7 separate regions of the Homo sapiens genome follow, and all the other regions are linked to region 4. Evidence: promoter capture Hi-C in 16 types of primary human blood cells and fetal thymus (Javierre and others, 2016). All regions are on one chromosome and are shown on one strand. Each heading gives the region's core, a stretch centred on a gene start or on the middle of the fragment in contact. The rest is flanking DNA. Distances are from core to core; before and after follow the strand shown.

Region 1 (3,922 bases), core at 324-2,823, 2.0 Mb after region 4:
GGCTATGTGAGCACTGCACTCCAGCCTGGGCAACAGAGCAAGACCCTGTCTCTAAAAATAAAATAAAAATAAAAAGTAGCCTGTCAGCACATCAATCACAGCAGCAGGTTTTTCTTTCTTCAAACCACTATCTGATATTATCTCGTTAACTTCTTCAAGTCTTTAATAACAAAAATAATAGCAGCAAATACACATGATATGGAAGTATTTTACTTATCAGGTTGAACCCTATAAAAGTGCCAATCTGTAAATAAAAAACGGTTAAATATGGGTAATTCCACAGTGTTCGATTTAATATATTAACTTGTTTGCAGCTCACAACCACCTTACAAAGTAGGTCCCCCAGATGAAGAAACTGTAAGAACAGAGAGGCTGCTTAACTTACCCGACGTCACATTGCTAGTAAGTGGCAGAACCAGGATTTGAACCCATGCTCAACACTCCCACCCCACAAAAATGCAAGTTCCATGAAGGCGGATAGTCTTGTTCATTGCAACGTCACTCCCATTGCCTATTATCACAGAGTATGGGCACGTATGTAGTAAGTTCTCAATAAATACATGTTTGAGTGAGTGAGTGAGTGAATAAATGAATGAATGAATGAATCTCCTTAAAATCACTGGTCGACTGCCCAGACCACTCGGAGCAACCAATGCAGAAGCCTGCCGGGCCAAGAGGAACCGAGGGAAGGAAGACCTGGGCGGGCAGGTGCCCCAGGGGCTCGGGGTGCAGTGGGGGCGCGGCGGCGCGCGGGCTCACCTTGAAGTCGCGGCTGTGCTGCGGGGTGTACTCCAGGGTCCAGAGGGCCCGCACCAGGTGCGCCAGCTGCTCAGTGACCTCGCCCTGGCCCTGCGCGCCGCGGCCCGCAGGCTGCTCCGGGTCAGGCGAGGGCTCGGGCCGCCCCGCCCGGTACTGGCCCAGCGCCAGGTACTCGGCGAAGAGCTCGGTGTTGCTGAGGCACTGCAGCGTGGCGTTCATGAAGCACGTGTTGCCGTGGTTGCGGAGCCCCGCCACGCCGGGCACCGGCTCGGCGGCGCAAGCGGGCGGCGCGGGAGAGGCGGGCGGCGGCGGGCACGGCGGCGGCGTGGGCGCGGCGGCCGGCCCGGGCGGGAAGCAGCTGCGGAGGCCGCCGCGGTCTGGGGCGGCGCCCTCAGAGCTAAGGTGCGAGAGCGTGGACAGCGTCTTGAGAACGCGGCTCATGAAGCTGCCCACCGAGCGTGCAGAGGAGGGCGAGGAGGGCGAGGAAGGCGCGGCCGGCCCGGACGCCCCGGGGCCCCCCGCGCCGCCGCCGCCAGCGCGGCCGCTCCGAAACAGCCGCTTGCTGAAGGAGCGCTTCTCCTTCCCGCTCGCCGCCGCCGGCGGCCCGGACCCAGGCGCCGTTACCTTGGACATGGCGGCGGCCGCAGACACTCATCACCGCGCCCGCCCGCCCGGCCCGCGGCCCCGCCACGGCCGCCGCCGCATCCCGCAGCGCCGCGCCTCACCGGGCCCGGGGGCTCGACGCCCCACACACCTCAAAGCGCAGCCGAGCCAGCGAGCGAGCGGCGGCCGGCGGGGCCAGCGGGCGCGCGCGCGGTCCGCCCAGCTGAGCCGCTCACGTGACGTGCCTCCCGGCGCCGCCCGCCCGGCGCTGAAGCCGCCTCGGCCGCCATGTTCACTGTGGGACGGTAGCTGCCTCTCCAGCCGGACGCGATGCCTGGAGGCTGCGGGCGCGGTCCTGCTGCGTGAAGCCCGAGGGAGGCCATGTCTAGTGTGGGCGCCGTCCCGGCTTGGAGGAAAAGGCTGGGCTCCCGTTGGATGGTGGATCCCCGGGGTGGGTCTCTGTCTTTGCTGGTCAGATGGCAGAGGCGGGAACGTGCAGGAATCAGGATGCTGTCAGTTACCAGACCGTGCAAGAGCTGGTGGACATGGCCCTGACAGGTCCTGGGCAAGTCAGCCCTGTCTGGCTCCCAAGGGACGTTGCAGATACCTACCCTCTGGGTGCCAGCGGAGCGCAGTCACAGACCCTGGCACGTCCCAGCGGGCTTTTCTTCCTGGCTGCACCTTGGAGTCCCAGCGAAACGCTGTTATCATAACTACTTTCCTTTTCATTCCAGCCTTTAAAACTCCTCCGGGCTCTCCCATCATTCATCATTCCATTCATTCATTCACTCACTCATTCATTCAGCAGTTACTGGGGATATTGCAAAGAATTAAACCTATTAAATTAGAATCAAATGTCATATCCCCAGCGGATTAAATTAGCACGGTTTCTACCTGCCCTCTTGCAGCTTACATTCCTACTGGGTGTTTACAATAGCTGTTGTGTTCCACACATTATGCCAAGCATGCAATATTTTCTTTAATCTTTAATTCACCGTCTTTGAGATTGGTACAGTTCTTATCTGATTCAAACCCAAGTTTTATTTACAACCCCTATACTTGACCTCTAAACCAAAGGTCACGAATCCACAAATATCACAGGTCACAAACCCACAAATGAGTGAAGAATCCTGGTGTTTGAATCATCATATTGACTTTCAAGTGACTTGGGTCTCAGTGTTGGGGGAAATATAAGGAATGATGGGGACTATAGCAGACTTCAAATTAACATCTTTCTAAAGAGGTGGCTGCCACTCAGCTCCAGCCAGTTGTTCCCATGTGAGAACAGGAGCTCAGCGTTACCAGATCATCTGATGTTTTAAGAGAAGGCAGAAATCCTATTTTTAAACGTTGGTTCCATTAAAAAAAAAATAGTGCAGGGAGCAAAAAATAGTACATCTTTGGGATGCCTTTAGTCCAAAATCAACTAGTATATGACCTCCTCTCTATAGGCTCCCCTCTGCTAAAAGGGCTAGTCTGAGTCCTGAGGCAGAAGAGAGAAATCAGAGAAGGGAGAGCCCTTCCTCCTTTTTAAAACATGAAGGCCACCTTACACCACGTTTCAAAGTAAATGGTTTTTACCTTTGACCTCCCTCCCCAATGTAAGTAGGGCTCTATGATGACATCTCCAGGGTGCTCTGCACTGTCCCTAATCGGCTCCACTCTCCTCTTAGTCAAAATTCTTATCTGGACACCAGGAAGAAAGCCATCTGATTATTCACACTAAAATGTGAATGCAATGGCCCTCAACTTCTGGGCAGTTTGATCTAGACTCGAGGGCCTTTGCTGGAGCCGTTCCCTCTCCCTTGAACCTTTCCTTAGCTAACTTAGAACCTTTCTACTTAGCTAACTTCCCCTCATCCTTAAAGTCCCACCTTAGATATCACCCCCTCCAGGAGATGTCCCTTCCACAGGCCCTCTTGGCACCTCTCATTCATGACACTGACTTGACCATATTGCAATTCAGTTTACAATCATCACCTTCACTAATATGTGGGCTTCAACCCAGTAGAGACCCATCTTACTCATTATTCGGTACCCAGTAAGGTAGCCATTATATAACAGGTTGATTATTTGGCAACTTTATACCTAAACAATGTCGTGTGTGTGTGTGTGTGTGTGTGTGTGTGTGTGTGTGTGTATGTGTGTGTGATGGAGTCTCACTCTAACAACCAGGCTGGAGTGCAGTGGCGGGATCTCAGCTCACCTGCAACCCCCATCTCCTGGGTTCAAGCAATTCTCCTGCCTCAGACTCCTGAGTAGCTGGGATTACAGGCACTTGCCAGCACACCTGGCTAATTTTTGTTTTTTGTTTTTTGTTTTGTTTTGTTTTGTGAGCAGCAGCAAGATTTATTGTGAAGAGCAAAAGAATAAAGCTTCCACAGCGTAGAAGGGGACCCGAGCGTGTTGCCCTAATTTTTGTATTTTTAGTAGAGACGGGGTTTCACCATGTTGGCCAGGCTGGTCTCGAACTCCTGACCTCAAGTGATCCACCTGTCTCAGCCTCCCGAAGTGCTGGGATTACAGGCATGAGGCACCGCGCCCGGCCTCTAAACAATAT
Region 2 (3,928 bases), core at 29-2,528, 1.5 Mb after region 4:
CAGAGTGAGACTCTGTCTCAAAAAAAAAAATCTACTCTTAGCAATTTTCAAGTATACAATACATTATTATTATTATTATTATTAATTATTATTATTATTACTTTGGACAGAGTCTTGCTCTGTTGCCCAGGCTGGAGTGCAGTGGTACCATCTCAGCTCACTGCAACCTCCCCCTCCCCAGTTCAAGTGATTCTCATGTCTCAGCCTCCCAAGTAGCTGGGATTACAGGCGCACGCCACTATACCAGGCTAAGTTTTGTATTTTTTGTAGAGATGAGGTTTCACCATGTTGGCCAGGCTGCTCTCGAACTCCTGAACTCAAGCTATCTGCCCACCTCGGCCTCCTAAAGGGCTAGGATTACAGCCGTGAGTCACTACACCTTGCTTACAATACGTTATTATTAACTATAGTCACCATGCTATGCAATGGATCTCCTGAACTTATTCCTAACTGAAGCTTTGTACCCTTTGACCTACATCTGCCCATCGCTTTCCCCTCCCCTTGCCCCTGACAATCACCATTCTCGATTTTTCTTACGCAATAGTAAATCTTGGAGATTTGTCCATGTTAGTAGACATACATCTACCTCGTGGTTTTAACTCCTGCATAATATTCAAAGTATGAACGTGCCACAGTTTATTCTGTAACTCCACTAATGGACATTTTGGTTATTTCTACTGTGTTTTCCTCTATAATAAGCAGTACTACAACAAATATCCTTCTATATACCTCCTTATGCACATGTGTGAGTGATTCTCTATGGTTGATACCAAGACTGAAATTTCTGGGCCATGAGGCAGGCCCATGTTAAAATTAAGTTCTCCTTTTTGAATAGGTCACACATTTAGTTAATTCAAAAATAAAAAATGATATGCAAGATATATGTCACAAAGTCTTTCCCCCATCTTTTTCCTAATCTATTTTCCCTTCTCTCACCCCTGTAGATATTAATTTGTTGTGTATACCTCCACAGTTCCTTTATGAAAACAAAGCAAAGAAGAACATGTATTCCTATTTTCTCTTCTTTCTTACACAAAAGATACCATACTATATATATATATATATATATATATATATATATATTCTTCTTTATTTCACTTTTTTTCACTTGATAATATATCTTGGAGCTCTTCCCATAACCATAAATCTTCTATAACTATAGAGAGTGTATACTCATGCTATTTTTTTTTTTTTTTTTTGGAGACAGAGTCTTGCTCTGTGGCCCAGGCTGGAGTGCAGTGGCACAATCTCAGCTCACTGCAACCTCTGCCTCCTGGGTTCAAGTGATTCTATTGCCTCAGCCTCCTGAGTGGCTGGGATTACAGGCACGTGCCACCACGCCTGGCTAATTTTTGTACTTTTAGTAGAGATGGGGTTTCACCATGTTGGCCAGGCTGGTCTTGAACTCCTGACCTCAAGTGATCCACCTGCCTTGGCCTCCCAAAGTGCTGGGATTACAGGTGTGAGCCACAGCACCCGGCTAACTCATGCCTTTTTACATAGTATTTAATTTACATAGTATTTCTTTACATAGATGTGCTATAATTTTTTTAACTAGTCTCTTATAGATCACTTTTCCCTGATCTTTTGCTACTACAAACAAGACATAAGCATTTTATTATTTTTTAAAATTTTTGTAGATTTAGGCTTTGAGATGTTTTATTCATTCATTTAGTTATCCAAGTATGTATGTCTGTACTAAATATTTGCTAAGGTCTTGTGTGGTGGCATTATCTTAGGCACTGCTGATAACAGGATTCACAGAACAGGCACAGCCTTTCTTCTCACAATGCTTAAGATCTTGTTAGGACAACAGACCTTGGAAAGAAAACACAATCGTAATGTATTTCCATAATGAATATGAACCTCTGTTAACCCATCCAAGATTTTTTTTTTCCCTCGTGATCGCACATTTTGTGGAGGAAATGTATAATTATGCTTGTGAGACAGAGAAAAACTAACTGGGCCATGAGGACCTGAATCCATTGCCTCCGTAATTATTACAGAGACAGGCACATTTTAAATTTCAATAGACATAGCCATGCTGCCTTTCAAAGGGGTTGTGCAGTTTACATGTCCACCTGGGTGGATTTTATTTTTAAAAGCTTTTTATTTATACTTATTTAATTTAAAAAATTATTTATTTATTTAGAGACAGGATCTCACTTTGTCACTCATGCTGGAGTGCAGTGACGTGAGATCGTAGCTCATTGTAGCCTTGAATTCCTGGGCTTAAGGGATTCTCTTGCCTCAGCCTCCCTGTAGCTGGGCCTACAGGCACACCTCACCATGCTTAGCTAATTTTTTATGTTTTGTAGAGATGGGGATGTCTTGCTATGTTGCCCAGGCTGGTCCTAAACTCCTGGCCTCAAGCGATCCTCTCACCTCGGCCTCCCAAAGTGTTGGGATTACAGGCATGAGCCACAACAGCTGGCCTTGGGTGGATTTTTAAAGGAGCCAAAATAGAACAGACACTGGCACCTTCTGCTTTAGCCAGATAAAACTCCTGTGGTTCCCAGAACAGGACGCACGTCGTCAAGTGTTCTTGCAACAGCAAGAGAACACTCTTGATGGAAACCCCCCTTTCTACAGTTTGTCTGTCTAGCTAACATCTTCCTCTAAGCTACACCATGAAAATCTGTGGCACCATCTCCAACCCCTGTAGGTAGAGTTGATCACCCCTCCTCTGTATCACCACTGACATTTGCCCATATCTCTATTTTTGTACTTGTTCCTAGTTCGTTTTCTTTCCCGGCCTCGTCTCACTTCCTTCATTGTGGACTTCTTGAAGGAAGAGACCATATCTTTATTTACCTTTGTATTCCTAAAGCCTAAGACAGTGCCTGTTTCCGAATAGCTGCTTCATCATGTTGGCTAATGAATAAATTAACAAATAAATGATCACTGAAAATGGAGATGAAACCACCAAATTGAATTTGGACAATGAATCCTGGGGTGTGTTTATCCACTAGTTTGCCAATCATGCAGATGAGCTTATCTGCGTCTGCTGATGGGATTTCGGCATAATTTGCATGCTAGAGGAGGAGGCTGCCAATTCACAGAGGATTCTTCTAGGCATTTGTCATTCATTATAGAACATAAGCTTGCATTGGAGTCTATGCAGCACAGCATCAGCCAATTAGAGGAGATTGTAGCTTTGGAAACAAACATCTGCTTGATGCTGGGTAAATAATATTTAGAGTCTGGTGTTTTATGCCTGTCCATGTGATTAATTTGAATCCTGTATAATTTTGTATTTGATCATGTGGGACTCACAGAGATCATTTCTATTACCTAAGTTACAAAAGCCATATCTGGCATTTCCCAGGATTGGTCCCATGTTTTAGGAGAGGCTTTCTGGTTTGGGTCACACCTGGGACTGGAGGTAAGTGTCTATACAGTGGTAGCCAACTTCCATAAAGGAAAATAGAGAAGGACGTCTGTCTCCAAATTCTATCCTGGATAACACTTCTGTAGAAAATTCAGGAGTATTGGGAAAACGTGAATGTCTTTTCTTAGCTGTTGCTAATTGGTTCTCCTCTTTCCAGGGGTAAGGAGGTTAAAAGAAATGTAGTGAGTTGAGTACCATTTATAAAGTTCCTACTCCATGGCAGTTCTTCCCCAGATGCTTTTCTTACATTTTCCCCATTTGAAACTCTTTTTTTTTTGGATGGAGTCTTGCTCTTGTTGCCCAGGCTGGAGTGCAATGACGTGATCTTGGCTCACTGCAACCCATGCCTCCCAGGTTCAAGTGATTCTCCTGCCTCAGCCTTCTGAGTAGCTGAGATTACAGGTCCTGGCCACCATGCCCAGCTGTTTTTTTTTTTTATTTTATTTTATTTATTTTTAGTAGCAATGGGGTTTCACCATGTTGGCTAGGCTGGTCTTGAACTCCTGACCTCAGGTGATCCACCCACCTTGACCTCCC
Region 3 (4,118 bases), core at 762-3,261, 1.5 Mb after region 4:
CCATCTCTCATTGAAGGGTATTTAGGTTGATCTAACCAGTGCTAATTTTTCTAATCCACAAATAACTTCTGCAAATTGAAAAAGACTTAAAAATCCAGTACAGAAATAGGTAAAGAATAGAAGTAGGCAATCTTTAGAAGTGGAAATGCAAATAGCCAATAAACAAATGAAATTATGCTCATTCTTTTCGGGGAAGGGGAAATGTAAATAAAAATGACAATAGATTACTTTAGAAATTAATCAATTTGACCCAAACAGAAATGATTTATTACCATCACTTATGATTGTATGGAGGAAGAAAGGACTCTCATACTTTGCTGTTATGAGTAAGAATTGCTTTAACCATTCAAGAAAAATCTGAAAGTAGCTACTGGAATTCAAAATATACTTATGCTCAGAAATTTCACTTTTGGCATGCAGAAATGGAAGTACCAATTCCACAGAAAAATGTTTATTACTTTAAGTACCTGATTCTTGCAAAAATCTGGAAACAAAATTAATATCCAAAAGCAGGGATTTATTGAATAAATTATAATGTTTTATGTTTCAGAATTTTATGCAACTGTTGAAAAAAGCCAGGTATATGGAGAGATGCCTATACTTTCTTGTTAAGTAAAGAAGCACATTTGTGTAATATCATCCTATTTCTGAAAAAAAAAAAAAGAAAGAAAGAAAACCTTTCATCTGGTTTTCATGTATGATGCTTGCATGAACTCAGGAAAAACATGGAAAAAATACATAGTAAATTGTTGACATTAGTTACTTTGAAGGGAAGGCGGCATGTGACATATACTGCAACTTGAATTTGAAGTGAAAATTCATTAAAGTGCATATAAAACAGGATAACTTGTACCTGTGTCCTTAAGACAAATTACCGCAAAGGACAGGTACAGTGTGACATCCTAAATCTTGGGGTAGGCATAAGGGGATATGCATGTCTTGTCAAGGTCTGTTTCATGGTGTTTAAAGAACTTTATTTTATTTTATTTTATTTTTATTTTTTTCTTTGCCTTCTTTTTTTTTCTTTTTTTTCCTATTTATTTATTTATTTTACTTTAAGTTCTAGGGTACATGTGCACAATGTGCAGGTTTGTTACATATGTATACATGTGCCATGTTGGTGTGCTGTACCCGTTAACTCGTCATTTACATTAGGTATATCTCCTAATGCTATCACTCCCCGCTCCCCCCACCCCCTGGCAGGCCCCAATGTGTGATGTTCCCCACCCTGTGTCCATGTGTTCTTATTGTTCAATTCCCACCTATGAGTGAGAACATGTGGTGTTTGGTTTTCTGTCCTTGCGATAGTTTGCTCAGAATGATGGTTTCCAGCTTCATCCATGTCCCTATAAAGGACATGAACTCATTCTTTTTTATGGCTGCATAGTATTCCATGGTGTATATTTTTTTGAGACAGGGTATCATTCTGTCGCCCAGGCTGGAGTGCAGTGGCACAATCACAGCTCATTGCAGCCTCAATCTCCCTGGGCTCAGGTGATCCTCCCACCTCATCCTCCCAAGTAGCTAGGACTACAGGTGCTCACCACCGCACCCCAGCTGACTTAAAAATATTTTTTAGTGATGGGGTCTCATTATGTTGCCCAGGCTGGTCTTGAACTCCTGGTCTCAAGCAATCCTCCTGCCTCAGCCTCTCAAAGTGCTGGGATTACAGGTGTGAAACACCATGCTTGGCCCAGAAGAAGTTTAGACAAATGAAATTTAACAGAGTTTAACTGAGCAAAGAACAATTTGAGAATAGGGCAGTCCTCCTTTTCAGAGAGACTCCTGCACTGCCGTGTGGTTGGAGAGGATTTATGGACAGAAAAGGGAGGTGAGGTGCAGAAACAGCTGGCTTGGTCACAGCTTGGCATTTGCCATATTTGAACACAGTTTGAACAGTTGGTTGCCTGTGATTGGCCGAAACTTGGTGATTGGCACAAGAGTAGATTACAGACTATTGACACATCCAGTTAGGTTACAGTTCACTAAGTGCGGAGAAACCTTAGGCCCAACTTAGAATATGTCAGGAGGGGCTGGGTGCAGTGGCTCACGCCTGTAATCTCAGCACTTTGGGAGGCCGAGGCAGGTGGATCACCTGAGGTCAGGAGTTCGAGACCAGCCTGGCCAACACGGTGAAACCCCATCTCTACTAAAAATACAAAAATTAGCCGGGTGTGGTGGCATATGCTTGTAATCCCAGCTACTCCAGAGGCTGAGACAAGAGAATCGCTTGAACCCGGGAGGCGGAGTTGCAGCGAGCCGAGATTGTGTCATTGCACTCCAGCCTGGGTAACAGAGAGAGGCTCTGCCTCAAAAAAAAAAAAAAAAAAAAAAATCACCAAGATGTTACAGTGTGACTCTATGTAAGGAAATACAAATGATTCAATGATGCAGATATTTTTAATAAAATATGAATTACAAAAATTGAATTATGAAAAAGTAATGTCTGGAATAAAAAAAATATACAAAAATAAAAAGTGCTTGGGCATGCTGGCTCACACCTGTAATCCCAGCAACTTTTTGGGAGGCCGAGGTGGGAGGATTGCTTGAGGCCAGGAGTCTGAGACCATCCTGGGCAATATTGTGAGATCCTGATCTTTACAAAAAATAAAAAACTATCTGGGCTTGGAGGTGTGCACCTGTATTTCCAGCTACTTCGGAGGCTGAGGTGGTAGGATCCCTTGAGACCAGGAGTTTGAAGATGCAGTGAGCTATGATCACACCACTGCACTCCAGCCTGGGTGACAGAATAAGACCCCATCTCTTTAAAAAATAAAATAAATAAAAATAGAAAAGTTAAAGTATTATCAAATGGTCATTTTAAAATAGCCTCCTTAAACAGATTTTTCTAATGTATTTGTTCTCTTCAAATTTTCTGGTGACAAATTTATTCCTATACTCAATGAATGGTTCCAGATTATAGAAAACCATGGAAAACTTTCTAATTCATTTTACGAGAACGATACAACCCTGAAATTCAATCTTGAAGAGTATAGTGGAAAAAAAATAGAACAGAAGACCAAGGCACTAGATGAAAAACTATAAATAAAATAATAGCAAACAGAATTCAATAATACATTAATAGAGTCACTAACCATGACCAAGGAGGATTTAGCCTAGGAATGCAAAGACGTTTGTTTTTCAAATCATTTTATTAAAAAAAAAATAATAAAATCTTATAGGTTACAGTGACACTTTTTGTACCCCTCCTGGGTTTTCTTCTCTTCCTTTTTCCATCCCCTATAAATTGCAAAAACCAGAGATAAGGACTATTTTGAAGTTGGTATTTATCTTTCCAATATATGTTTCATATCCCTACCACTTTTATAAGTATCCATCAATATTTAGCTACATATTATCTTGTATGTTCTTTAAAATTCCATAACTGGTTTTATTCTAGGTGTGTTCCTGTGGAACTGGCTTTTGTTCATTTAGCCTTCTGTTTTTGAGATTATCCATGTTGATACAAGTAGATCTAGCTCATTCATTGTATAAATGTACTGGTGGGGCATGGTGGCTCATGCCTGTAATCCCAGCACTTTGGGAGGCGGAGGTGGGTGGATCACATGAGGTCAGGAGTTCGAGACCAGCCTGACCAACATGGTGAAGCCCTGACTCTACTAAAAATACAAAATTTAGCCGGGAGTGATGGTGCGTGCCTTAGTCCCAGCTACTCGGGAGGCTGAGACAGGAGAATCGCTTGAACCCGGGAGGCAGAGGTTGCAGTGAGCCAAGATCATGCCTTTGCACTCCAGCCTGGGCAACAGAGCAAGATTCCATCTCAAAAAAAAAAAAGTGCCATTATTTATAATTTTTTACATGTAGACTGAATGTTTGTGTCCCTTGTCCCCCAAATTGAAATGTTGAAATCCTAACTCCCGATTTGATAGTATTAGAAGGTAGATCCTTTGGGAAGTGATTAGGTCACGAGGGTGAAGCCTCATGAATGGAGTTAGTGCCATTACACAAACAGCCCCTGGGAGCTTTCTTTCCCTCATTCCCCCATGTAAGGATACAGCAAGAAGGTAGCCACCCGCAATCCGGAAGAGAGCCCTTACCAGAACCCGACCATGCTGGCACCCTGATCTCAGACTTCCAGCCCCCAGAACCGTGAGCAA
Region 4 (4,303 bases), core at 151-2,650:
AAGTTCTCGACAGCCACAGCCACACTATTGCACCAGTCCTCACTACAACCCTGTGATTGCTTCTTTTTTTTTTTTTTTTTTTTTGAGACAGGGTCTCACTCTGTTGCCCAGGCTGGAGTGCAGTGTCTTCACTGCAACTTCTACTTCCCAGGTTCAAGCGATACTTCTGCCTCAGCCTCCCGAGTAGCTGGGATTACAGGTGCGCACCACCATGCCTGGCTAGTTTTTATATTTTTAGTAGAGATGGGGTTTCACCATGTTGGCCAGGCTGGTCTGGAACTCCTGGCCTCAAGTGATCTGCCCACCTCAGCCTCCCAAAGTGCTGGGATTATAGGTGTGAGCCACCGCACCCTGCCAGCTTTTTGTTATCTAAAGACTTATTTTCCAGGTTGCTATGGCCACAGGCAAAGAGGAGAGGTCGGTCAACACAGGTCCCTGTCTGGAAAGTGGCTGAGAACTGTGCAACAGCAGACCAATGGTTGGGCTTATCCCTCTCTCTAATTTATGGTTGAAGCCATGGTTCAGAGAGGTTACTTAGTCACACAGTAAGTTGCCATCATGCTCTATAGCAGTGGTTCTCACCTCGGGACGATGGGGCCTTCCAGGGGACATTTGGCAATATTTTGAGACACAACTGGAGGTGGGGGGGGGCGGTTCTTGTAACTGGCATCTAATGGGTAGAGGCTAGGATATTGCTAAACATTCTACAATCCACAGCTCAGAAACAGAATTATTCCGCCCCAAATGTCAATAGCATACTATTCAGAAACCTTACTCTATAGGGCAGATTTGGGGCCAGGGGAAACAGGGGCTCCTGCTCCGACTTGGATCCATGCAAACCGAGGAATTTGGATTGATTTATCTTGTCTCTCTCAGCCTGGACTTTTTCATGTGTAAAATGGACATCCAATCCATCTGAAAGGATCTCACTGGCTTATGACATTCGCATTTGAGCAGTCATGGTTAAAAACTTCCAGCCAGGGTGATACTTCATCACGTGTGTGTCTTGAGCGCCAGAGACGTTCCAGAGCAGCTGGTTTTAGGCATACAGGAGGGGAAACCCTGACACCCTTGGAAAACTCATTCTCGGCTGCCAGTCTGCCTGTCTTGAAGGTGGTCTGAGCTTTCTCACTCCAAGCCAGTCGTGTGGGAAGGGACACTCTCTGAGCCTCAGTTTCCTCAGCTGTCAACCTCTCAGGGCTTGTTCTAGTGGCTCCGAAAGCCAGTGGGAGCGAGCGCGCTTTGCAAAGCCTTGGGCGCCGGGCCTTGGCGCGCCTTTGCCGGATCCTTCCGGCCACGGGCGGGGCGAGCCCAGAGGAGAAGAGCCGAGGGGCGGTGCCCGGGCCAGGGGGCGGAGGCAGGCGGCTCTGGCTCCCTCTCGGGACGCTCTTTCCTTCTTCCTCTTGTTCCTCCTCCTGCCTCTCTTCGCTTCGCCTGCAAACGCGGTGGGGGCTGCTCGGCGGTCAGGAGCAGGTGAGAGCTCGGAGCTTGGGGGTGGGGGTCCGGGTGCCCCGGGTGGCTAGACCCCTCTCGCCGGGCGGGGACAGAGGAGGAGCGCGGGGGCGACGGCGTGAGCGCGCTATCGGGGTCCCACGCCCGTAGCTTTCTGCCCCGGGGTTAGTGTAAGGGGCGTCTCCTGCTTATGAGTCGCCGGGACGGGGCTGGGAGCGCACGAGGAGACACGATTCCTCCCCACCCCTAAATGCACACTCACCCCGCCACCCCCCAACACACACACACATACACACACACACTACCACTAGATTAGGTAAAATGGTAGCTAGCACCACCACACCCCGAGACTGTGCCCCTTTCTGGGGAACCTGGGGAAGACGTCGAGGCAAACCTCCCTAGGATTATTGAAAACGGGCGCCTTCCTCACCACCCAGCCCCTCTTCTCCACCGAGGTCCCCTTCCCCATCGCTGCAGAGAGATCTGCAAGTATCAAAGGGGGCTTCTTTACCCCCAAATTAATAACTAAGTACTCGACTCCCCTCTGAGTTCCCATTATTCAGTCTCTGTGCCTTCTGGGACGCGGACCCCCTCTCCACCTGCATTTCACTCCCTTCCTCCTCTCCTTGGGTCTCCCTGGCTTTTGAACGCTGAAAGGCTGGGCCCGGATGGGGAGGGGCGGCCAGTGTGAGCTCGAGGCGCCCTGTAGCTCCCATCCCCCAACCAGAGATGTGACCCCTCCTCCCAGCTTGAACTTTCGAGGTAGCCGTTTTCCCCTGGAGGTTCGGGGGTGGGAGGGCCAGGAGATTTATTTGGAGCCTTGGAAGGGGAAAGGGTTAGCTGGTGTTGGCCTGGCCCAGTCCCCCAGGCGTGAAGAAGGCGGGGCACTCCTTGGCCGCGCCGGGTTCTCGCTTTCCCTTCTCGGGAGACAGCTCCGTGCCTGGGGAGGCCCCTCCGAGGAGTGAGTGACCAGGGGGTCTGGGAATTGGTGGCCAGGTAGACGCATTTGAAGGCTGTGGCCGATGGCATTCGCCCCACGCACTCTCTCATCGGACTCCCCAAACCGGTCTGGGTGGCACTTGAGGCTCCCAGGCCAAAGGAGACCTGTAAGGGGAACTCCGCTTGTTTCTGCTTGCTGCAGAGATGAGATTATGGGAACTGAGTGCTGGGAACATCCCAAGTTCAAGACCTACGCCAGAGGCAGCTTCAAAGAGAGAATGTGGGGTGGTGGGATTAGTCCCCTCCTCAACTTTCCCCTCCAAAGGGTTTCTTGTTTTACAAAAGGGAAGTAGCAGAGGATGTCTAGCTGGGATGATTAAAATGTGCTTTAATTTGCATACTAGACCCTGTACAGCTTAGTAGTAGATAAAATTACCCCCTATATGATAAATAAATGTGAGGATCTCTCAATTAATTTTGGCCACGTGGACACAATCTTTTAAGCATTTGTACTGTAGGTCAGGTCAGTTTAAAGGGAGAAATGGAAAAGATATCTCTGTGTCCAGCCAGTTCTGGGAAATATAAAATAAGAATGATTTTTTTTTTATATTTGAAAACTCAACAAGGGTTAAAAAATATATCTAATTTAACCAATTGCCTTTATTAAAAATAAGTAAAAATTGTATGAGATTGGGACACCCCTCAAAATTCCAGGCAGTTTAGTTAGAGTATAATTACTGTGGTGAGGTCTGCCCCCGAGGTGCAGTTCTCCTTAGCAGGGATAGACTTACCCACAAGTAAGTAGATGATGATGTATGGAATGATGGAATTGGGAGCCAACCTGTACAGTAATAAAGAAGAGAAACAGGTCAAGGCTACTGTTGTACAAGGAAAGCTTTCTAGGGAGAATAAAAGGCAATGAGATTTGAAATAGTGTGTTCAGCTTTCTTGCTTTCTGTATATTTTCAGCATTTTGTCAAGCTAAAAAATAAACATAAGCTGTCAGAGATAATACTATTAACATTTTATCATCTTTTTTTAAAAGTATCATACACATCTTTTCACATCACTAAACAGTCACACTATCATTTTAATGACTGAATTTATCATTATTTAACCAATTTTCTCCTAATGGAAATACAGTTAGCTACTTTCCAATGTTTTGCTAGTCATTATATGTTATAAACAGGGATGCAATGCACAGCCTTTTAGTACATTTTGAGATACCTGTTGGATTATTTCCATCATGTTCCTGGAATATAAATTCCTGGATTGAAGTGTGTGCAATCTGAAATTGTTGTGAATATTGCCAGGTTACCCTCCGTCTGCATGCCCACCATCAAGGTATGAGGATGGTAGAAGCTCTCGTCGAACCAGATGGATGAAGACCACTAACGGCTTTTGTTTCCTCTGGTAACAGCAAGAGACAGAGCGACATGAGAGATTGGACCGCGGGCTGCACTGGAGAATTTACTGGTAGGATAATTCATCCCTAAAGAGATTGAAGTGAGCTTCAGAATGGCAAAAGAGGAGCCCCAGAGTATCTCAAGGGACTTGCAGGAACTGCAGAAGAAGCTGTCTCTGCTGATAGACTCCTTCCAGAATAACTCAAAGGTCAGTTTCCAATCACTATGTATAATGGAAAATCCCAATATAACACTAGCATAAACAAGATAGAAAGTTATTTCTTTCTCCAGTAGAAGGAATTTGGAGGTAAGTCAAGAATCTTTCTGGCTTACCGCCCTGCCATGTCTATGCTGTGACCTTCAAACTCCTTGTCTGAGATGACTGCAAGAGCATCAGCCATTGTATCCATCTTTCAGGCAACAGGATTTGAGGAGGGGGGAAGAGAGAAGTGCAAGCCACCTACAATTTAAGGAGACTTCTGGGAGTCGCACACAATACTTCCAAT
Region 5 (3,805 bases), core at 791-3,290, 1.5 Mb after region 4:
GCTGTCCATATATATGGGGCTATTTATGGATTTTTGTATTCTATTTCATTGATCTATTTATCATCTTTTATGCCAGTATTACACTGTCTTGATTATTACAGCTTTGTAATAAGTCTTGGATGGTGTTAGCATTACAACTTTGTTCCTTTTTTTTTTCCAGAGGTATCTTGGCTATTTTAGGTCCTTTGCAGTACCATATACATTTTAGGATGCATCAATTTCTACAAAAAATGCTTCCTGGAGATTTCTGTTTGGATTTCATTGAATCTATACATCAAGTTGGGAAAATTTACACCATCTTAACAATATTGAGTTTTCTTGAACCTATAAGTATAGGTTCAAGACCAACATTTTATTTATTTATTTATTTATTTATTTAATTTATTTATTTATTGCGATGGTATCTCTGTTGCCCAGGCTGGAGTACAGTGGTGCACTCCATCTGGGCTCACTTCAACCTCTGCCTCCCAAGTTAAAGCAATTCTCCTGCCTCAGCCTCCTGAGTAGCTGGGATTACAGGCATGCACCACCACACTCAGCTAATTTTAGTATTTTTAGTACAGATGGGGTTTTACTATGTTGGCCAGGCTGGTCTTGAACTCCTGACTTCAAGTAATCCACCTGCCTCGGTCTCCCAAAGTGCTGGGTTTACAGGCATGAGCCACCATGCCTGGCCTATTTTGGTATTTAACTTCTCTTGGCAGTAGTTAGTAATTTTCATAGTATAAGTTTTTCACATCTTTTGCCAGATTTATCTCTAAGTATTTAATATTTTTGATGTTATTGTGAATGGTATTGTTTATTAATTTCAATTTCTGGTTGTTTATTGGCATCATATAGATATATAATAGGTTTTTGTATCTTGAGATTGTATCCTGCAACTTCACTAAACTCAATTATTGGTTCTAGTAGCTTATTTGTTGCTTCTATCAGATATTCTGCATAGATGACCACATCATCTGTGAAGAAAGAGAGTTTTACTTCTTTCCTATCTGAATGCCACTTTTTTCTTTGCACTACTGCACTGGTTAGAACCTTTAGTACAATGTTGAATAGAAGCAGTGATAGTGAACATACTTGCCTTGTTCTTATCCTCAGAGGAAAGCACTTATTCTTTCATTATGATGTTTGCTATAGGTTATTTGAAGATGCTACATAGTTGAAAATGTTCTCTTCAGGTTCTACATTGCTGAAAATTTTTATTAGAAACGAATGTTGTTAAATATTTGCAAACGAGTTTTTTGCATCTATTGAGATAATTTTTTTTTCTTTTTTAGTTTGTGAATTTGGTAAACTACTTGATTTGTTTTTGAATGTTAAACCAACCTTGCATTTCTGGGATGAAGCACTACTCATCATAATGTATTATCCTTTTTACGTATTGTGGGATTCAATGTGCTAATATTTTGTTTTGCAGTTTTACATGTATAGTCATGAAGAATATCCATCTGCAGCCTTCTTTTCCTGTAATATCTTTGTCTGATTTTAATGGTAGGGTGATAGTGGTCTTATAGAGTCAGCTGGGGAGTATTCTTCCCTGTCCTATTTTCTGGATGACTTTATACAGAATTGGAACTTGCCAAGTATGTGAGCTTGGGGAACATGCATCTGCAAAATTGAGGAATAACAATGCAGTAGTGCCTACATCACAAAATTGTTGTGAGAATTAAATGAGATGATGTATACATTCAATAACTTTTACGTGTTATAATTATTACCATAAGCCAGTGTCTCCGAGACAAGACTAAACTGGAGAATGGGATAGAAAAGGGCCTCAAGGAAGGGTATGGACTGTTTTTCTCTCCAGATATGGTCTCACTTGGGCCTTCATGTGCCTTACTCCTTAAGGTCATTGGAAAGACAAAAACTGGCCCCCCTACTTAATCTCTGCCCACATTAATTAACTTCTGCTAGCCTTGTTTTCTTCATTCACAAGGAAGGGATATTATTAATAGCAAATATTTGTTGGGCACTTTCTAGATGCCAGACACTGTCCTGAGCACTATCCATGTGTCATCACTTAATCTTCACGGCAGCTTATGAGGTAGGTACTATTATGATCCCCAATTTTGGTGATGGGAAACTGAGGCAGAGAGCTGTTAGTAACATTTAAAGTCACACAGCTAATAAATGGCAGAACTGGGATATGAACCCAGGCAGTTCGGCTCTAGAGTGCACTTTCTTACCCTTTCTCTCTTCTTACCTTATAGATGTTGTTGTCATTGGTGGTGGTGGTGGTGGTGTGTGTGCATGTTGATTGAGATAACCTGGAACACATGAAAGATGTCAATAAATGTCACTTTACTTTCCACAAGTTCTACAAAACTCTGGAAGGAATAGCACACTGATTATTTTGTCTTCTCTCAACTTCCATCCCCATGCCAGCCCCAATCCAGGGCTGACTCCAATTAGAAGAGGCTCTGTTTCAGCAGACAGGATAAGCTGTAGTCCCAGAAGAACCCTGACTCTCAGGGTAGAGTGCAATGCCAAGGCCCCCTGGCCCTTTGCTACTCAAAGTGTGGTCCTGGGACCAGCAGCATTAGTATCATCTGGGAGCTTGTTAGAAATGCATGATCTCAGGCTTCACTATGACCTACTGCACCAGAATTTGTATTTTAACAAGACCCCAGGTGATTTGTGTGCACATTAAAGTCTAGGAATCACTGCCCAAAATCAATACTTTTTCTGTTTGATCCTTCCAAGCGGTCACTCATTTGCTGAGGTGATGGGAGTTCACCAATGCATCCCTTCACAGATGCGATGTTTATATTGAGTACACATTTATCTTCTCTGTGCAGGAGATGCAAAGTCAAATCCCTTCAGTTGGCCAGATGGGAACTCTGGTAGAGTGTGCATGTTCTGTCTAAAAGGGACAGCTACCATTTCACTCCAGCCAACTGCTACATGGAAACGCTATCCCAGTGTTTAGATCTTCTGATATTTTCTTTTAAGATGGGCCTCACTCTGTTGCTCAGGTTAGAGTGCAGTGGCATGATCACAGCTCACTGCAGCCTCAACTTCTCAGGCTCAAGTGATTCTCCTGAGTCAGCCTTTGGAGTAGTTGGGACTATAGGCATGCACCACCATGCCTGGCTTATTAATTTTTTTTTTTTTTAGTAGAGACAAGAGCTTGCTATGTTGCCCAGGCTGTTCTTGAACTCCTGAGCTTGAATGAGGTGTGATCCCCACACCTGTTGGGATCTTCTGATATTTTAATCAAAGCTGGAAATGTGGATCTTCATCTGAAATCTCTTATTTGTTAAATGTTAATAACTAATTCAAACTAGTAAAATAACTTTGAGGGCCAAAGAAGCATGTGTGCTGGCCATATTCTCCAAGGGATGCCAGCTTGTGACCTCTGACCTAAAAATGACTTCTAAAGAGTGCAGCTTCTCAAATAAATCAAGTATGTATTGTACATGACAGTCTTTTGAAAGTTCAGAGGTTTTTGCAAAGCATGCAAGATTTTCCATTACTTGGTTGTCTCTACTGTCAGCTACACTCAACCACAAATATTTAATTGCTGTTTCATCTTCTGTACTTTGGCATGTATCTGTTCTCTTTGCTTTGACTATCCATTCCCCTTCATCCGTCTAGCTAGCTTTGATTCATCCTTCAAGATGCAAACCAAATTTCACCTCCTCTGTGAATATTTTCTGGTTTCCCTCCATTACAGTTGCCCACTAGTGCAATTCTCCACCCTGGGCCATGTTGTGCTGGAATCATTTGTTTATATCATTGTTTCCCCTATAAATGCTCAGACGTCAGGGACCAAGTCTTATTCCTAACATCTAGGAAGTGTTAG
Region 6 (3,996 bases), core at 1,068-3,567, 1.3 Mb after region 4:
TACTGTACTCCAGCCTGGGCAACAGAGTGAGAGCCTGTGTCACAATCAATCAATCAGTCATTAGGCTGGGCTCTGTGACTCATGTCTGTAATCCCAGAACTTTGGGAGGCTGAGGCAGGCAGATCACCTGAGGTCAGGAGTTTGAGACCACCCTGGCCAACATGGTGGAACCCTGTCTCTACTAAAAATACAAAAATTAGCCGGGCGAGGTGGTGCGTGCCTATAATCCCAGCTACTCAGCAGGCTGAGGCAAGAGAATCATTGGAACCCGGGAGGCAGAAGTCACAGTGAGCCAAGATCACGCCACTGCACTCCAGCCTGGGCAATAGAGCGAGACTCTGTCTCAAATAAATAAATAAATAAATAAATAAATAAATAAATAAAATTAAAACCCTGGTGGCTAAAAGAGGACAGGAACAGAATCTGGAATAGAAAAGACCCAAAGCCCTGTATTTCCTGTTATAGCTTATTTGCTGATAGATGTCAGAGCAATGGAGGAATGGCAAGTGTGTTTTTAACCTATCTCTCTGAATTTTCTTTGTATTCTCAAAGAACACGAAGGCCCTAAAGCAATAGTTCTCAACCTTGTTGCACATTAGAATCACTTGGAGCCTGAAAAAGTCCTGATGCCCAGACCATACCCTAGACCAGTTAAATCAGAATGTCTGGGGCGTGAGATCCAGGCATATGTGTTTTTTTAAAATATAAAACAATACTTCATTTCCTTTATTACCTAGTTGTATCGTTAAAATAAGAACAAATACAGTGGAATGGAATACTTCATATGACTTCATGTGAAAAATACTTCATTATACAATAAACAACCCTCATGCATTTCAACATTGCCACCAGTAACACTAAAGACTCCCAGTTCTATTCATATGTGATCATCACTGCCCTACACCCCAACCCCAGCTCCTCCAAGCTTCAACAGGCATCAGTATTTTTCGTAGCCCCTGGCTTATTCCATCATGCAGCCAATGTGGGAATCTAGAGATTGACTTCCTTGGAAACAGAGGCTCTAGAGACTAATTCTTATTGGCTCAGCTATAGACACGTTGGCAGCCAGACACGTTGGCACACTAGTCTCATGGTACTATAAGCATTTTTTAGAGGTATAAACTCAAACAGCACACTCAAGTGTCATTTATCTTTGAGTGATAATTTAACAGTTGGCATTTGGTGGCCCCACATAGCTAATGCTAATCTGAAAGTGTCCAACTGAAGTCCACAGGTTAATTGCACACTTAGCAGGATATGGTGTGATGATCAGAGAATTCTTTGAGATTCACCAGTGTAAAGAATTTAGCAAAAATGTGGCTGGGCATGGTGGCTCTCGCCTGTCATTGGATCCCTTGAGTCCAGGAGTTCAAGGCCAGACTGGGCAACATGGTAAGACCCTGTCTCTACAAAAAATACACAAATTAGCCACATGTGGTGGTGCACACCTGTAGTTCCAGCTACTCAGGAGGCTGAGGCAAGAGAATTTCTTGAGAATTTCTTGAGCCCATCAACAGGTTTTGAATGTTCCAGTCTTTTTTTTTTTTTTTTTTTTTTTTTTTTTTGAGTCAGGGGTCTCATTCTGTCACCCAGGCTGGAGTGCAGTGGTGCGATCATGGCTCACTGCAGCCTCAACCTCCTGGGCGCAAGCCATCCTCCCCTCTCTGCCTCCTGAGTAGCTGGGACAACCATGCCCGGCTAATTTTTTTTACAAGACCACTGTTAAAAGCCCGGAAGAATCCTGCAGCTCGCTGTGGTGGGCTGTTTTGCGTGTGCTAGAGTCTATTCAGCATTTCAGACAGAAAAGCCTCAGCATTCCTCTTCTGTGGGTCTCCACCGTAGCTCCTTTGAAATCTCTGCTTTCTCACACTTTCCCATCTGAGTCTTTGTGCCATGGCCGTCCCCTCCTCTCCAATACGAAGAGCCCACACTCAGTTTCCCTCCCTCCTCCTCCATCCCACACTGCCCGAGCACCTCACCTCCCAATGACTGACTCGTCCCCGGTCTTGCACACACCTGGGGAGTGTAGCTGGCCTGTCCTGCACACCAGCCTTGCAGGCTCAGTGAGTAGACCATCCTTGTCTGCTCTTGCCGGGTGCAGCTGTGTGTAGTGGCCCAAGGGGGGGTCATCTGGGAGGGCACCAGGAAGCATAAGTGACATGCACCATGAGGAAGCGTAAGTGATGTCCACCACAAGAGGTGTGGGGAGCGGCAGCAGCGCGTTCATCCACTGTGCTTGACTTTGTTTATTTCCCCGATGACCTTTTCCCGGACTTCCTAGCTGGATCTCCGTGAGTGCCAGGGCTGGGTCTGGGAAGGGTTTGGGACCCAGCACATCACCTGGCACAGTCAGTGTTTGCTCAATATTTGCTGAGAGAAAACCCCAGCCATGTCACCGACTTACAATAGGAGCTTCTCGTACGGAGCAGAAATGTGTTGTTGCCTGTGGCTTTGCAGGAGCTCCGAGCAGTGGCGAGAGGAAGTCATGGGTGACCATGGTAGGCATTACCGCCTGATGGGGTTGCTGGCTGGTCCTGAGCTCATCACCGTCCATCTCCTGCATCCACAGTGATTTCTATTAAGTGCAGCTTTTCGTCAGGCAACCACCAACGGCACTGAGGGGTGGGATGATGGCAAATTGACCAAAACGCTCAGGGGGTGCTAGCCACGCGGCGGGTGCAGATGTGGACTCCCCAGCCCCACGAGCTTGGAGTGCCATTCAGCCCCGCTGCACCCCCGTCTGTCTCCAAGGCGGAGGAACTGGGGTGGGAGGAGGAGGCACAGAGCTGTCTGAACACAGCTAGAGCCACTCACTGGCCCCTGCAGGGGAGCAACGCAGTGGGGAAGCCTGGAGGGAGGGAAGGTGCAGTTGCAGTGGGTGGGCACGGGGGCTCAGCTACTGGCACAGAGAAACACAAGGGAACTACGAAAGAGCAGGAGGGAGGACGCGGGGGTGGGCGCAGGGCTGGAGGACCGGGTGGTCCACAAGGTGGTCAGGACCTCAGCTGGTGGCTGGGCTTGGGAGGGGCTGGCATGGAGTCACGGGCCACCATCCCCTAAGTGTTTCCATAGGCAAGGTTCTCATTCCCCTAGTCAGGGGAGGGGACGGGTACAGAGAAGCGCAGCAATGAGCCAGGAACAGAGCTGAGATGAAACCTCAGCCTCCCGTCTTCAGAATGAGAATTAATCCACAGAGGAGCTAAGGAAAATGCCGGGCACCGAGTTGACGGGTGAGGGGTGTGAGCCATGTGGCCGGCATGGCCGCCCCACCACCAGCTCCATCCTGAGCACTTCACAGACATGGCCCTCTTCATCCACACAACTGCCCCAGGAGCCACTGAATGAGGCTCGATGAAACCTCAACTCGCGTTGCAGCGCACGTCTGATCACACTCGCCTTTGATCACTTTTATCACTGGGGATCCTGCAGTCAGGGCTTTGTGTCTGCAGCGGTCCCTGGGAAACAATCTACAACTCGAAGCTCCACCAAACTCACTCAGAGTCACAAAATTTCTATCACTGACTGCTTTCCTCCAAGGCCCAAACTGGATTTATAAACTTCCAAAGAAAACTTCATATTGAAAAAGCGATGTACCCACAGCATTGTAGAACGATGTTCACAAAGGAAAAACAAGGCCGGGCGTGGTGGAGTGAGGCTCTAGTCCCAGCTACTTGGGAGGCTAAGGTGAGAGGGTGGTTTGAGCTCAGGAGAAGCTTGCAGTGAGCCCAGATGCACTTCAGCCTGGGCAACAGTGCTAGATCCTGTGTCAAAAATAATTTTTTTTTTTTTTTTGGTGGCTCACATCTGTAGATGCAGCTACTCAGGAGGCTGAGGTGGGAGGATCAATTGAGCTCCGGAGGTCGAGGCTGCAGTGGGCTGTGATTGCACCACTGCACTGTAGCCTGGGCGACAGAGCAAGATCCTGTCTCCAAAAAAAAAAAAAGGAAAAACTATTGTTTTTGCCATCGCCACCCAGTAAACATAGTTACTGATATT
Region 7 (3,876 bases), core at 36-2,535, 1.5 Mb after region 4:
TGTGTGTGGATTTATTTCTAGGCTCTTTTAGTTTCCTTTTGAGGAATAAGCTCTTTTCTATTTGATGCAGATTCATAGGACAGTAATAGGAGAATTGATCTGGGATTCTCTGAGGCTTTCAACCTAGGATTTGAATCTCGAGCAGAGAGAAAGACTTTGGTTATAATAGTGGTTTCGTAGCCACAAAACTATCAATGGTAACAGCTAGCACCCATATGGCTCTAAGTGCCCAGCACTCATGCAAAACACTTTAATTATATTAATTCATTTAACACTTATAATAAAACCATCAGACACATACTATCATTGTCCCCATTTCTCAGAGGGGAAAACCAAGGCATGCAGAACCTAAGTAACTTGCCAACCTCAAAATTAGTAAGTAGCAGGGCCAGGATTTGAACCCAGGAAGTCTGGCTCCAGAGCCCATGCCTTATTTTTTTAGAGACAGGGGTCTCAGTATGTTGCCCAGGTTGATCTTGAACTCCTGGGCTCAAGCGATCCTCCTGCCTCAGCTTCTTAAATAGCTGGGATTATGGGTGAGCCACTATACCCAGTGTGAGCCTATGCTTTTAAACATCAGGCTATCCTGTGTTGGTTATGATTCCTCTTTTCTACCCTCTGGGGATGCCTTAGTTCCTGTCTTCTTCCAGGCTTGGCCATAGTATAAGCCCATCTTAGAGGATCTGGTCCCAATTTCCTCCCAGGAAATGGTACAGGAGTTGCTGAAGGGGTTTACTTCCTGGGGTAACATTGTCAGATGTACGTTTAAAAAACAACTGTGATTTCCACCACAAAGTGATATTTTCTTCAATAGTGTGTGAGTTTGCTAGGGTTGCCGTAATGAAATTCCACAGGCTGTGTAGCGGAAAGAACAGAAATTTACATCTCACAGTTCTGGAGGCTGGAAGTCCAAGATCAAGATGTTGGCAAGTTTGCTTTCTCTTGAGGCCTCTCTCCCTGGGTTGCAGGCGGCACCTTCTTGCTACATCCTTACATGCCCTTTTCTCTGTGCACACCCATCCCTGGTGTCTCTTCCTCTTCTTATTAGGACACCAATCCTATTGGATTAGGCCCCACCCTTATGACTTCATTTAACCTTAATTACCCCTTTGCAGGCCATATCTCACATTGGGGGTTAGGATTTCAGCATATGAATGAGGGGCAATAATTTAGTCTATAACAAATAGCTACAATTTGATGGAACATTTATTATCTCCTGTCTGTGCTAAGTAATTCCCATGCAGTCTTTCATTTCATCCCATACTAGCTTTGCAACCTTAGACAACTAACAACCTCTCTGTGCTGAGTTTCCTCATCTGCAAAATGGGGACACAAATAGTACCTGCCTTATAGTGTTGTTACGAGTATTACGAGTATTAAATCAACGAATATGTGTAAAGCACCTAGAACAGTGTCTGGTGCAGAGAGTTTGTTAAATAAATAAACCCGCGCTGTGAAGTTGGTAGAATTCACATCCAAAGATAAGCAAACCAAGCTCCTCTGAGGATATGAAGCAAGCACTTTGTCCAAGGTCAACTGGCAGAAACATGTTTAAATTCAGTGCTGTGGGCAAGGTGCGGTGGCTTACACCTGTAATCCCAGCACTTTGGGAAGCTGAGGTGGGCAGATCACCTGAGGCCAGGAGTTCGAGACCAACCTGGCTGACATGGTGAAATCCCGTCTCTACTAAAAATACAAAAATTAGCCAGGTGTGGTGGCGGATACCTGTAATCCCAGCTACATGGGATGCTGAGGCAAGAGAATCTCTTGAACTTGGGAGTTGGAGGTTGCAGTGAGACGAGGTCGTGCTACTGCCCTCCAGCCTAGGCAACAGAGCAAGACTCCGTCTCAAAAAAAAAATCACTGTCATCCTGGATCCTTGTAATGGGCTCAGGAACTGGCCCCAGAGTCCTGGTAGATTCTAGCGTGCGTCTCCAGGGAAGGAGAGACTGACCAATCTTACATTTGGAGAGCAGGACTTAAGAAAAAGCAATCACCAACGGCCATTCTGCCCAAGCAGAACTCGCACTCTGATCCACTGCAATCCACTGCCTCGAGTGATCGGTAGGGAATTTTTCAGGTGAGGAAGCGGGAATACAGCAGAGAAATCTATGCCATGCTTTGGGAGAAAGAGCAGGAATTCCATGTGACTGAAGCGGCAGGTGGCTGGGGGGATAGGGCAGTGGGGAGGCAGGGGCTTGGAAAGTGGGGAAGCTGAGCCACAGTTGTGCACATTGGGACTTGTCTGTCCTGTCTGCCCTTTGTGTTGTAGGCCACAAGGATGCACTGGAGAGTTTTATGCAGGATCACTGACTGCATCAGTATCAAGCCACAAAAATGGATTCTGGCCAACTTAAGCCAAAAAAACAAAAGCTAAAATAGAAAGAAAGCTCTTTTGAAAAGGCTGCCTCAAAGATCTAGGCAACAGGAACTAACTGAAAACCCATTAAGGTACCTTACCACGTTTCTCCGGAATGGGGCCTGGGGGGCACCTCCAGGCCTATTCTAGGGAGAGCTAATCTGATTGGTTTAGCCTGGGTCACATGACCATGCCTGGGCAGGCAGAGAGCCTCTTGATTGACAGTCCCACCCGACAGTTTTGAATGAGGGAGGGAGGTTCCCCAGCGTGAGGGTGGGTGCTGTTGCCTGAGGAAGGGGAGTTGTTTAAAACAAGAGGAGAAGCTGCAAGTAGACTACTAGTAACGAGAGAGCAGACCTGAGAAGCAAACCAGAAAAAGGGACTTCTATTAATTTGTCACCAGGACACACTGCCGTTTCATGTGCAATGCAGCTGTGCTTCAAATCGGCCCCCTGTGTAATTTCAAGGATAAATATAGAGCTTTTTCAATAGTTAAAAAAAATCTAATGGCAAGAACTAGATACATTTCTGTGCGTTTTATGAAGAAATTTACTATTTTTTTGAGTAGAGAATACTTGAGTAATATATTCATGTAGTTCAGAACTCAACATGATGCAAAAATATATACACGTGACAGTCTCATTCACATCCCATTCTCACCCTCAGGCTTATATGTAAGCACTTACTTGTTTCTTATATACCCTTCTGGTTTTTTTTTATTATTATTTATTTTTTATTCTGCTATAAGTTCAGATGAGTATGTATGAGTATATGAAAGATTTGTGCTGAATTTCCTTTCTGGATGGTGTTGGGGACCTGAGGAAGCCCAGGGGAAGTTGGAGGTCTATTTCATCAGCCTAGTAACACCTCTGGGATTCTCCCATTGACCCTAGGTCTTTTGTGGGGTCTTGGGTACACTACAGTCCTCGGCCCCCTGCTGTATTTCTGGGGGAAGGTCTCAGGCTTCCGGGCCTGGGAATAAGTACTCTTATTTCAATGGAATACTCCAGTTCTTCAGGCCTGGGGAATGTAGGAGTTCAGCTTAGTTTCCAGATTCCTCCCAGTCCTCTAGGGCAGGGGTCTGCAAACTGCAGTTGGAGGGCCAAATCCTGTCCATCACTTGTTTTTTTTTAAATAAAGTTTTATTGGAACACAGCCACAATAATTTGTTTACATATTACTTGTGGCTGCTTTTGCTTTATAGCAGCAGAGTTGAGTCATTGAGACAAAGATGGTACAGCTTTTGAAATCTAAAATATTTTTTATGTTGTTCTTTATGGAAGTTTGCCAGTCCCTGCTGTGAGAGCTGAAAAGGAAATGAGGACCTTGTTCTGGAAGTGCTTCCCAGTGGTTGGAGAAGCCCTTAGTGGCCCAAAACGAGGAGGCCATCACTGCAGAGAAGGAGCAGCTCAGTCAAAAGTCTGGGAGTCATCCTTGTCACCTCCTTTCCTTCATCCTATCCCCACCCCACATTCGATTCCATACCAATGACTCTTGATTTTTCTTCTCCAAAATAT

What was found. Contacts are between HindIII fragments. The CHiCAGO score rates a contact against its expected background, and 5 or more counts as called.
Region 1: the fragment with the promoter of USP31 here is called in contact with the fragment with the promoter of LDAF1 in region 4 in 5 of 17 cell types (activated CD4 T cells, total CD8 T cells, total CD4 T cells and 2 more); the score reaches 10.9 in activated CD4 T cells.
Region 2: a contact is called between a fragment that was not itself captured here and the fragment with the promoter of LDAF1 in region 4, in 7 of 17 cell types (naive B cells, total CD4 T cells, total CD8 T cells and 4 more). The highest score is 8.8, in naive B cells.
Region 3: a contact is called between a fragment that was not itself captured here and the fragment with the promoter of LDAF1 in region 4, in 12 of 17 cell types (naive B cells, total CD4 T cells, monocytes and 9 more). The highest score is 16.4, in naive B cells.
Region 5: a contact is called between a fragment that was not itself captured here and the fragment with the promoter of LDAF1 in region 4, in 13 of 17 cell types (naive B cells, total CD4 T cells, total B cells and 10 more). The highest score is 14.1, in naive B cells.
Region 6: a contact is called between a fragment that was not itself captured here and the fragment with the promoter of LDAF1 in region 4, in 5 of 17 cell types (erythroblasts, non-activated CD4 T cells, total B cells and 2 more). The highest score is 11.1, in erythroblasts.
Region 7: a fragment that was not itself captured here is called in contact with the fragment with the promoter of LDAF1 in region 4 in 12 of 17 cell types (naive B cells, megakaryocytes, erythroblasts and 9 more); the score reaches 17.4 in naive B cells.

Annotation. Positions count from the first base shown.
Region 1 is chr16:23,147,879-23,151,800 of GRCh38, forward strand. USP31 (ubiquitin specific peptidase 31) reads right to left here and starts at 1,574. Exons shown (of 16, transcript NM_020718.4): 1 at 760-1,574. The coding sequence starts at 1,392. RefSeq lists silencers at 715-944, 1,075-1,174, 1,275-1,324, 1,475-1,574 and an enhancer at 1,755-1,974. The HindIII fragment of the contact is 4,661 bases long and covers 1-3,735 here.
Region 2 is chr16:22,630,960-22,634,887 of GRCh38, forward strand. No RefSeq gene overlaps it. Among named protein-coding and RNA genes, the nearest start is that of LINC02890, 19 kb to the left of the region's middle. The HindIII fragment of the contact is 1,649 bases long and covers 455-2,103 here.
Region 3 is chr16:22,650,081-22,654,198 of GRCh38, forward strand. No RefSeq gene overlaps it. Among named protein-coding and RNA genes, the nearest start is that of LINC02890, 39 kb to the left of the region's middle. The HindIII fragment of the contact is 6,772 bases long and covers 1-4,118 here.
Region 4 is chr16:21,157,274-21,161,576 of GRCh38, forward strand. It overlaps LDAF1 (lipid droplet assembly factor 1), which reads left to right and starts at 1,401. Exons shown (of 5, transcript NM_001301771.2): 1 at 1,401-1,473; 2 at 3,812-4,005. The coding sequence starts at 3,910. It also overlaps a transcript of DNAH3 not described here. RefSeq lists silencers at 1,281-1,410, 1,461-1,640 and enhancers at 1,898-2,398, 2,533-2,682. The HindIII fragment of the contact is 5,830 bases long and covers 1-3,284 here.
Region 5 is chr16:22,688,760-22,692,564 of GRCh38, forward strand. No RefSeq gene overlaps it. Among named protein-coding and RNA genes, the nearest start is that of LINC02890, 77 kb to the left of the region's middle. The HindIII fragment of the contact is 6,669 bases long and covers 1-3,805 here.
Region 6 is chr16:22,417,980-22,421,975 of GRCh38, forward strand. It overlaps the pseudogene RRN3P3. Among named protein-coding and RNA genes, the nearest start is that of CDR2-DT, 45 kb to the left of the region's middle. The HindIII fragment of the contact is 2,788 bases long and covers 924-3,711 here.
Region 7 is chr16:22,668,187-22,672,062 of GRCh38, forward strand. No RefSeq gene overlaps it. Among named protein-coding and RNA genes, the nearest start is that of LINC02890, 57 kb to the left of the region's middle. The HindIII fragment of the contact is 7,075 bases long and covers 1-3,876 here.